3 separate regions of the Homo sapiens genome follow, and regions 2 and 3 are each linked to region 1. The links are contacts of gene promoters, found by promoter capture Hi-C in blood cells and fetal thymus (Javierre and others, 2016). All regions are on one chromosome and are shown on one strand. Each heading gives the region's core, a stretch centred on a gene start or on the middle of the fragment in contact. The rest is flanking DNA. Distances are from core to core; before and after follow the strand shown. Region 1 holds the start of GTSF1 (gametocyte specific factor 1). Region 2 overlaps CBX5 (chromobox 5). Region 3 holds the start of NFE2 (nuclear factor, erythroid 2).

Region 1 (2,911 bases), core at 182-2,681:
AAAAGAAGAAAAAGAAAATGCCCCACTGATCCTTTTTACTAAAGCTACATTCAGTTTTTGTCAGGGTAGTCCTCTCAAGTCCTATTTGGGCTCTACACCACTGAAATGCTGTAGAAATCCCAATATTTCACTGCCCAGACTAATCACCCAGACTGCCTCCTACATCTTGAACAGCACAGAATGTTTTGTCATATCTTTTACTTCTTGGTTTTGAAAAATATTACCACCAGATCTACTTGTAGTGTCAACACCTTCCTTTTTTTGTCTAACCTTCAAAGGCTACAAGTCCCTTTTCTCTATAATGCCTTCCCAGGTCATTTCAGGCCCCATTAATTTTTTTCCTTACAGGAATTTACAGTCTCTACCACTTTTTTTGGCATTTTTTGTACTGCTATTAAACCTTTCATCCACTTTGGGAGTCGTTTTTCTAAGCACTCTGGGGACAAGAACTGCAGCTTACACTTTTTTTCCCCAGAACAAAGCCTCACACTACGTTTGGTTTTCCCTTAACAAGTTGTAACCTTCCGGCCTTCTTGTCCTCTCCAACTCTTCATTGAGCTCTCTCCCCAACTCTAAAACTCGCTTTCATCAGGCAGCAACAACCATCATCCTACCAAGCATTCTCAGATAGTTAGTGCCTTTTGAATTTTGGGATTTTACAACACATTCTAAACAAGAACAGCCAGACACAAAATTCCTGTCCTTGGTGATTGTTTTGTGGCTGCACTGCGTATCTCCTTTATAATTCCTCTTCTCTTCCCTCAAAATCTAAATTACCTTTCTATCTAGACAACTTCCACAAACAAGGCTTCTTTCTAGGCAGCTCCCCACCTCTAACCAGTTCCATCAGTCCCATTCCCTCAGGCGCCATTTTTTTTTTTTTTTTTTTTTTTTTCCTGAGACGGAGTCTCACTCTGCCGCCCAGGCTGGAGTGCAGTGGTGCAATCTCGGCTCACTGCAGCCTCCGCCTCCCGGGTTCAAGCAATTCTCCTGCCTCAGCCTCCCAAGTAGCTGGGATTACAGGCGCCCGCCACCACACCCAGCTAATTTTTGTATTTTTAGTAGAGACGAGGTTTCACCATGTTGGCCAGGCTGGTCTTGAACTCCTGAGGTAATCGCAGGTGCCCATTTCTAAGTGCTCATCTGCCTTTTCTAAGATGGCCGCCACAAAACCCAGGGAAAGAAATGCGAGTTCTACCCTCTCAAGGCCACTGTTGTTCTGGGGGCCAGGGGAGGATGGCCCCAAAGATGGGGTGCCCAAGGAGGAGATCCTCGTGGGAAAGGGTCATCAGGGAGCTGACCCTAGGGGCTCACAGGTGAACTCCACAGCTGATCCACCCTGCCCCACACTCAGCCAGAACCGAGACTCCCAGTCACAGGAAGTGCCGGCCCCTCGCCCCACCTCCCAACGTTAGGCGCCGGAAGTGGCCGTTGCTGGGGCTTGCGTGGGAGGAAGGTGACTGTGAGGAAGGTGTGTGTCCACCGAGGTAAGGAAAGGCACCCCGGGGCGCCTCTAAGCAATTCCTATTTTGCGTACCGGGATACCTTCACCTTCTAATATCCTCATTTCGCTTTTCTGCTGGTAGCCTTCAGCCTTGTGGGCTCTCAATGCAGCTATTTTGGCTACCAACCTGTTTCGCTGCATTGCCCACTCGAGGGCCTCCTTGGCGCCTTTTCTATGTTTTTTTTAAGTTAACCACCTCCCCCACTTTCTCTTATTTAGTCTCATTGATTAAGTCTACTGTGATTTTGTTGTTGTTGTTGTTGTTTAAAGGAAGAAAAATGATTCTTTTACTAAGGCCGGAATTCTGTTAAGCGTTTAACCAGTAGCCGCCGACTACATCCATACCCTAAACTTGATTGCTTCCGGCGTAGCTTGTCTATTTCACCGTGATCTAGTAGTAGGGAAAAGGTAAAGAATCCCGTTAACAGTTTGATGCGGAAGATACTTAAAACAGACACGGCTAAGTGATGGTACTGTGAATTCCAGTGCCCCTAGTGTACTGTAATTCGTCCTTTTGTCCGGGAAGAATAGGTTGGCTTCCTACAAGCTGCTGAATCTGGTGCTCATCACTTAAAATCAAGAAACATACTTGGTTCTTCCTTCCAAAACTCTTATTTTTAATGAAAAAGTATGAAGTAACTATGTATAAGTGAAATATATACAAAAAGACGGTGGGGATTTCTTGATCCAAACATAAATATGAAAAATATTTTTAAGACAAATTCACTAATGATTGTCATTAACAAATGGGCTCAGTAGCAAAAAAACTAGAGTTCTAGCTGATCACTTGTATTTCCTATCATAGGTTCTAACGCTGCTTATGTCACAGAATGGGGGGAGGGGTGGTGAGGAGTGTAGAATTGTGTGAGGGGCCAAAGGAGAGCATGCTCTAGAGACAGACAATTTTCAGAAGTTTCGTATGGGGATGGTTTTATATAAATTCAGGTTTTTCCCACAATAATAAATGTATTTAGTCTCAGTGCTCAATAGAAGAGATTTCTAATAGAAAAGGATTCAAACTGTGAAACCATTTCTCTTTTAATGTTTCACATTCCTGTTACAGATTTGTTCTCTTGTGACTCTGTTATCCATAATATGGACAGTTCTTGAGTCCTAACATTGAGAGGTTTTCCCTTAGTGCATAGAGGGAATGAGTATTAATTGGAGAAGCTTAAAGTATTGCCACTTTAGCACTGAAGATTGGGATGAGAGGAGGTGAAACCTCACTAGAAAAAGGGACAATGTTAGTGTGGCCCTTCCTGATCATGTTTAAGAAAAGTCATGAAAATGGTGAACTAGTGTTTCCAAGCATATTGGAAGGGTTGAGTGTATACTGTCTGTCAAAGACTTCCAGCATTTCCAGGTCCTAGAGAGGAACAAGACTGGTAACCTGCCTATCTGTATTTT
Region 2 (2,911 bases), core at 290-2,789, 230 kb after region 1:
CTTTGTCCCCCAAGAAATGCCCTACTTTATCCTTTTCTTTTTGTAGTTGAGGAGGGCTAGAGAATCACAATTAAAAGTAAGGAAATAGCAGGGTTTTGAGGATCCTTGTCCCAGCCCCAAAGCTGAGGAAATAAGAATAAATGCTTAATATAGCCTTAATTCTAGAGCGCACCAGCCATGAGGCTGCTTTTCTTGTTGTTTTTGATTTTTAAAACATACAGCTGTCTGGCCAGGAGCATCTACCATTTCTAGATTATTCAGAGTAATGAGGGGAATGGATGGATTGCTCCAGTCCACAGATGAGCCACATAATATGCAAATCATATACCCATTCATAGCATTTGTTAACATTGCTTCCCTGCTCAGCTGCTGATTGAATTCTGTGTGCTTATATAAATTATGTCAAAAATTATACTGCATAATTGAGGTGACAGCTGTTGCTGCAGTGACATGACAGACTGGAACAATGAAGCTTTTGGTTTAAGTCAGCCAGGAAAATCCTTCTGAATGGTAATGTGATTGGGCAAGAGCTCATAAACCATACCTCAAGTGGGTGGGAGTTTTATCTCTATATTCCTTCTCTCTCTGAAGGAATTAAAGGCCTAGATCAAGTGCTGGATAATTGACAATTGCTTGTACTTAATCTGATCGGTATCTAAAAGAAGGAAAGGATGGTCAGGAAACATTTATCATAAATGTAGCCAAGGATATCAATTAGGGTAGACAAGAATAGGACAAAAATAGGCCAGAGCTCCTGAGGAGGTGATATGGGTCTCTTGATTTGCAGAAAATGACAGCCTATCCAAGTGGCCCAGTGTATGCCTCCCAGTAGCAGTGGGCATGTAAACTGCAGCGACCTTATTTTTAAAACCAAAAACCTAGTATGTGGACAAAGAACATGACAATATTTGGTACTGAGATTGGTTCTGAGAAACCTGGGGCATGTGGCTGCTGTGGTTATAGGTAATATTTAAGACATTCATAAAAATCTGATATTCTTTTACCGAAATAACCCCAGTATCATCTACTACTTACCATCTGTTAATAGACTTTACTCTGTCTTTTTTGTCTTCGGTTTATTGTACTGAGTGCCGCCAAAACAACTTTTGTTCTCTTCCTGCCTACCTGCAGCTGGTTCTATAGGAATGTAGGGAGCCAGAGGCCAGTATTGATTTCAGCCCTTAGCACAAAGGAAATCAGATGCCTGCTTCCAGCATTTGTTAGTGTTGAGTAGATGTTCTTGCCCTAGAAGAATTACAGCCTCAAACAGAAACCTGTTTCATGGAGCTTTCTCCCCTCAGAAGAGTTAATAGTTAAGAGCTAAGCACTCTTAAACACCTAAGTCTCAAATGCTAAAAATTTATTTTTCTTGTGTTTAGTCCTCTTTCAAGACATCTTTCTAAGCCTTTCAGTAATCAACATTAAAAGATCTCCCTTTCTTCAGAGTTATAGCACAGCTTTGCCCAGTAGAGGCTACCAAGGACAGCTTAGCAGCCCTTTGATTGCTGGGCTGGGCAGATGGCCTTCAAGTTAAGATCAAATGCCGGGAAAATCAGCCTACATGGGAGCACCCATTTTAAACCTGGAGAGAACCATGATGTTTTCTTCTTCAAATAACAATCTAGTTTTTTTTCCCCCAGTACTAAAATTGTATTGTCTTTCAGACAATATAATTTTTATTTAAAATTGGAACATACTATCTTCATGCTTTCTAAGCTAAATCTTCATTTAGATTTCACTCCTCAGTAGATCCCAGAGAAGAAGCTATATAGGATCCAGATTCAAATTTAACAGTGTCTTCTACTTTTTTAGTTATGTTTTCTATCAACTCCTGCTGCCTTTTCAAATACGGATATTTTTCAGGAGACTCTTCTACTTGTCCACTGACTGTATTTTTTCCTTTTTGATCCGTAGCCCTGGTTAAATGGCTGACATCCTTCCGTGGATGATTCTTGGAGGTAGTCTCAGAATTCCAAAGTGATTGTCTGTCTTCTTCTTGTCTTGATCCTAATGCAGACATTCACCTCTATTATTTATTTATTTTTTTTAGACAGAGTCTCGCTCTGTCACCAGGCTGGAGTGCAGTGGCACAATCTTGGCTTACTGTACCCTCCACCTCCTGGGTTCAAGCGATTCTCCTGCCTCAGCCTCTCGAGTAGCTGGGACTACAGGTGTGTGCCACCATGCCCAGCTAATTTTTGTATTTTTGGTAGAGATGGGGTTTTACCATGTTTGCCAGGATGGTCTCGATTTCCTGACCTTGTGATCTGCCCACCTTGGCCTCCCAAAGTGCTGGAATTACAGGCATGAGCCACCGTGCCTGGCCACCTCTATTAAATTTTTGTGGACAAAAATAAAATTGTCATTATTTGTTTGCTCTCATGGAGCACTTTCAGTAATACAATTTTTTTTAAATTCCAGTTGCCCTCTTTGTTGCTCTGTCCTCTGTAATACCTGACTTTGCTAAAGACTTGAGGGGTGGTTTCAGAGGAGGGTCAGGTGATGGGAAGGCAGGATGAGAAAAGCCCTGGACTTGCATGTTTGAGAAGGCTTCCAACCACATCTTCACTCAGACTCTTGGAATTCCTGTCCCCAAAACAAGCTTCTGTTTTTTGCTCACAATGCTATATTTCTAAATTTTTCCTGAATTACTGAGAAGCAGTCATTAGCTTTGTTAAGTTTGGTTTGGGGACATTGTTGGTATCAAAAATCGAAGTCTTATTCATTTGATGTAGGCCATGAATCATCAATAACTGGTTGCTGGAAAGCTTGACTACCATCCACTGGGGTGCTATTTTGAGAAGGATTTTTGGGTATCTTTATAGTCTGCAATTAGTTGATGATTGCTTTCTAGTTTATCAACTGCATTTATATTTGCTTTTCTGTTCATGGAAAATCCTTTATTTGCTGG
Region 3 (2,911 bases), core at 264-2,763, 170 kb after region 1:
ACAGGAGGCTCCTTATGGTACCAGCATTGCCTCTTTACTTCCATGGTTGTGTTGCTGGGTTGTTGGGGATCTTAGAGGAGAACTAGGCTATTGGTGGAGTCGTGGGGGACACTTAGAGGGCTCACAGCAGCTGCCTTTTATCAACTAGGACTGAACATTTTCATTATTTTAACAGCAAATACAATCCCATCAGAGCATGCTGGTTGAATGCCAGTCCTACTCCAGAGTGGCACCTATCTGCTTCCCCAGTCTTCAGATGTTTCTAATTTAACTTGAACATTGTAAGAAGAAAAAATGTAAGCTGCAGATGTCAGGATTGAAGCTAGACATATAGAGCTGAAAGCCATTACAAATTAGGAGGAAGAAAGGCTCTTTTCTCACAGTCTGTGGAGAAAGATGTTTGACCTGGGGCTTTGGTGGTGTAGCTTGCAGGCAAAAAGATGAATAAGTGGGCTGGGTGAGGTGGCTCATGCCTGTAATCCCAGCACTTTGGGAGGCCAAGAGGGGAGGATTGCTTGAGCCCAAGAATTCAATACCAGCCAAGGCAATATAGTGAGACACCACTTCTACCAAAAAAAAAAAAAAAAAAAAAAATTAGCTGGGCATGGTTGCACTGACCCATAGAACCAGCTACTTGGGAGGCTGAGGTGGGAGGATTGCTTAAGCCTGGGAGTTTGAGACTGTAGTGAAACATGTTCACACCACTGCACTCCAGCCTGGGAGACAGAGTGAGCCCCTCTCTGGAAAAAAAAAAAAAAAAAGATGAATAAGGGTACTTACTGGCCTAACAGAGTTGGGTGCCATGTGGCTGGGGTGCTTTGCCTGGGAGAAAGGAGGACAAAGGACACCTGGGGTCCCCTTTACGGGAGGTGAATAATCTCCCTGCTGGGTGGCCCCCCACCTAACTCCCTTCACACACTGACAAAAACCTGGCCAAGAAAGAATCCTTTGTCCTGGGACTTCTGAGGCTGAGGGGGGAGGGGAGAAGGCTACAGGTGAAAGGACACATCAAAGCAGTCAGTTGCCCCTCCTCCTCCAAATAGTTCCCCTGCCCTTGTTCCCAGAGCCCAGGTTTTCTGTAAATGAAGGCTATACCCTAAACGTCCAACTGCCTAGACAGCTGGGAAGCTAGACACCTGGTCCTTACCTTCAGCTGCCTTCCACCTTGATATGACTCAGTTTCCCTGTCCCTAGGAGAGCCGTGGGGACACAAGGCGACGACAACCTGTATAAAGTTTAAAGGTCACATTCGAGTGGACCATCAGGTTGGAATTCGTCAAATGCATGGGAGAAACGCAGACCTGGCTGGACTCCTGGGCTGAAAAGGAGGGCTGGGAGAGGCTTGGAGCCATGTGTGCCCCCGCTGGCCAGGAGCAAGGTGGGGGCGGGGTGTGGGCAGAAACCACATCGGGCTCAAGTTTCCTCTCTTGGCCGAAAGGGGCAGGAGGAGAGGAGAGCCACGGGGAAAGGGGAGGGTTGGAGGAAGGACTGAGAACTCAGGCCGAGGGCTTCAGACGCTGGTGCGCCTGCTTGGGGCTCCTGTGCTCAGCTCAGCCTGAGCTTCCACACTCAGCGCTCAGCAATGGCCCGGGGGCGGGGCGCGGTCCTCGCAGATTCTCAAAGGTAGCCGGGATCCTCGTCCAGCAGTGTCAGCTCAGGCTCAGCCTCCCCAGAGACAACACCGGGAGCCTCATCTCTCTCCTCACCCTGCTGTGACTCCACCACAGGTGCCTGAAAGGCAGGGTGTGTGTGGGGGGGGCGGATTCCAGTGAGATCCGAGGGGCAGGCTGGGGGGTGAAGGAGGTGAGGGGGGAAAATAACCAACTTTCGGTATCCTAGGAGACCTCAGACTTTCTAGATTGCCCCTGGTTTAGGAATCTGACATATTTGGGAACTCCTCTAGGAGAAGACCTAAGTGGTTTCTTGGGTGCTCTGGGATCCTTGGGGTGGAGGCTGTGAATGGGGATCAGAGAGGGGTCTCCAGAGGCAAGGCACCGCTGAGGGGCTGGGGAGTAGCCAGGAGGAATCCTTCAACTGGTGGGCTACCCTGAGGGAACCAATAGACTACCCTTTCCCCAACTCCATTCCATTACTCTGCCCTGTCTAGGCAGCTGAGAAGGTTTAGGGAAAGCTGAGGAATTGGAAACACTGGATATCTGAACCTCTGAGAAGTGTTGCAAGGTGCGGGGGTTGGATGGGAGATTGCCTCTGGGTTGTTGGCTCCTTTGCCCTTTCTCTTCTCTGTGCCCAGGGGCAGTAGAGATCAGCTGGACCTGGAGGGAGAAGGAAGACATCCCAACCCCAGCATAGTTGCTTCTAACTGGAACTCTTGGCTGCTTGGGAAATAGGGGCTTGGGAAGCAGTGGAAGAGAAGAGAGGAGGTATCAGAACTGCTGGGGCTGGGATCCCCTAGACATCGGTACCAAAGGACTGGAGTTTGGGGTCCAGGGATGAAGTGACACAATAGCAGAAACTCGTCCCCCTCTTCTTTGTTCTCACACATTTGTTTGAGTCATGCATGTCCCTAGGGCACTGAGCTCACTATGCTTAAATCTCTCTCCCTCCTTTTTTTCCCCTTCATTCTGTCTCATCTCTGTGTGTCTCTCTCTCTTCGGGAGTTCTCCCTAATCTTTCTAAATAGGTTGCTTACCGGTTAACCAATACCCCAAGTTTTACTAATCCCTCCTCATCCTTTCACTGCACCTATTGACACCTGGAGAGGTGAGGTGGTCAAATAAGCCTCAGAAAAGGGATCCTGAGGCAAGCCCCCTCTCATCGTTCCCCCTCGTTAAGGAAGTTAAGAGCCCTGGGGCAGCAGCTAAGGCCAAATGTATTCCTCTCTCCATCATCCCTCTCCGAATAGTCCTCACTCTGTATTCCTAATCATGAAGCTCCGTATCATTCTGTGAGT

What was found. The method cuts DNA at HindIII sites, captures the fragments that hold promoters and counts their contacts. A CHiCAGO score of 5 or more calls a contact.
Region 2: a contact is called between a fragment that was not itself captured here and the fragment with the promoter of GTSF1 in region 1, in 1 of 17 cell types (neutrophils). The highest score is 5.5, in neutrophils.
Region 3: the fragment with the promoter of NFE2 here is called in contact with the fragment with the promoter of GTSF1 in region 1 in 14 of 17 cell types (naive CD8 T cells, M1 macrophages, monocytes and 11 more); the score reaches 18.2 in naive CD8 T cells.

The regions. Positions count from the first base shown.
Region 1 is chr12:54,472,122-54,475,032 of GRCh38, reverse strand. GTSF1 (gametocyte specific factor 1) reads left to right here and starts at 1,431. Exons shown (of 9, transcript NM_144594.3): 1 at 1,431-1,487. RefSeq lists enhancers at 1,103-1,162, 828-1,354. The HindIII fragment of the contact is 3,434 bases long and covers 1-2,676 here.
Region 2 is chr12:54,237,325-54,240,235 of GRCh38, reverse strand. CBX5 (chromobox 5) reads left to right here. Exons shown (of 5, transcript NM_012117.3): 5 at 1-2,911. Among named protein-coding and RNA genes, the nearest start is that of MIR3198-2, 7.3 kb to the right of the region's middle. The HindIII fragment of the contact is 2,130 bases long and covers 475-2,604 here.
Region 3 is chr12:54,299,617-54,302,527 of GRCh38, reverse strand. It overlaps NFE2 (nuclear factor, erythroid 2), which reads left to right and starts at 1,513. Exons shown (of 3, transcript NM_001136023.3): 1 at 1,513-1,727. RefSeq lists an enhancer at 626-1,366 and a cis regulatory region at 767-1,741. The HindIII fragment of the contact is 10,882 bases long and covers 1-2,911 here.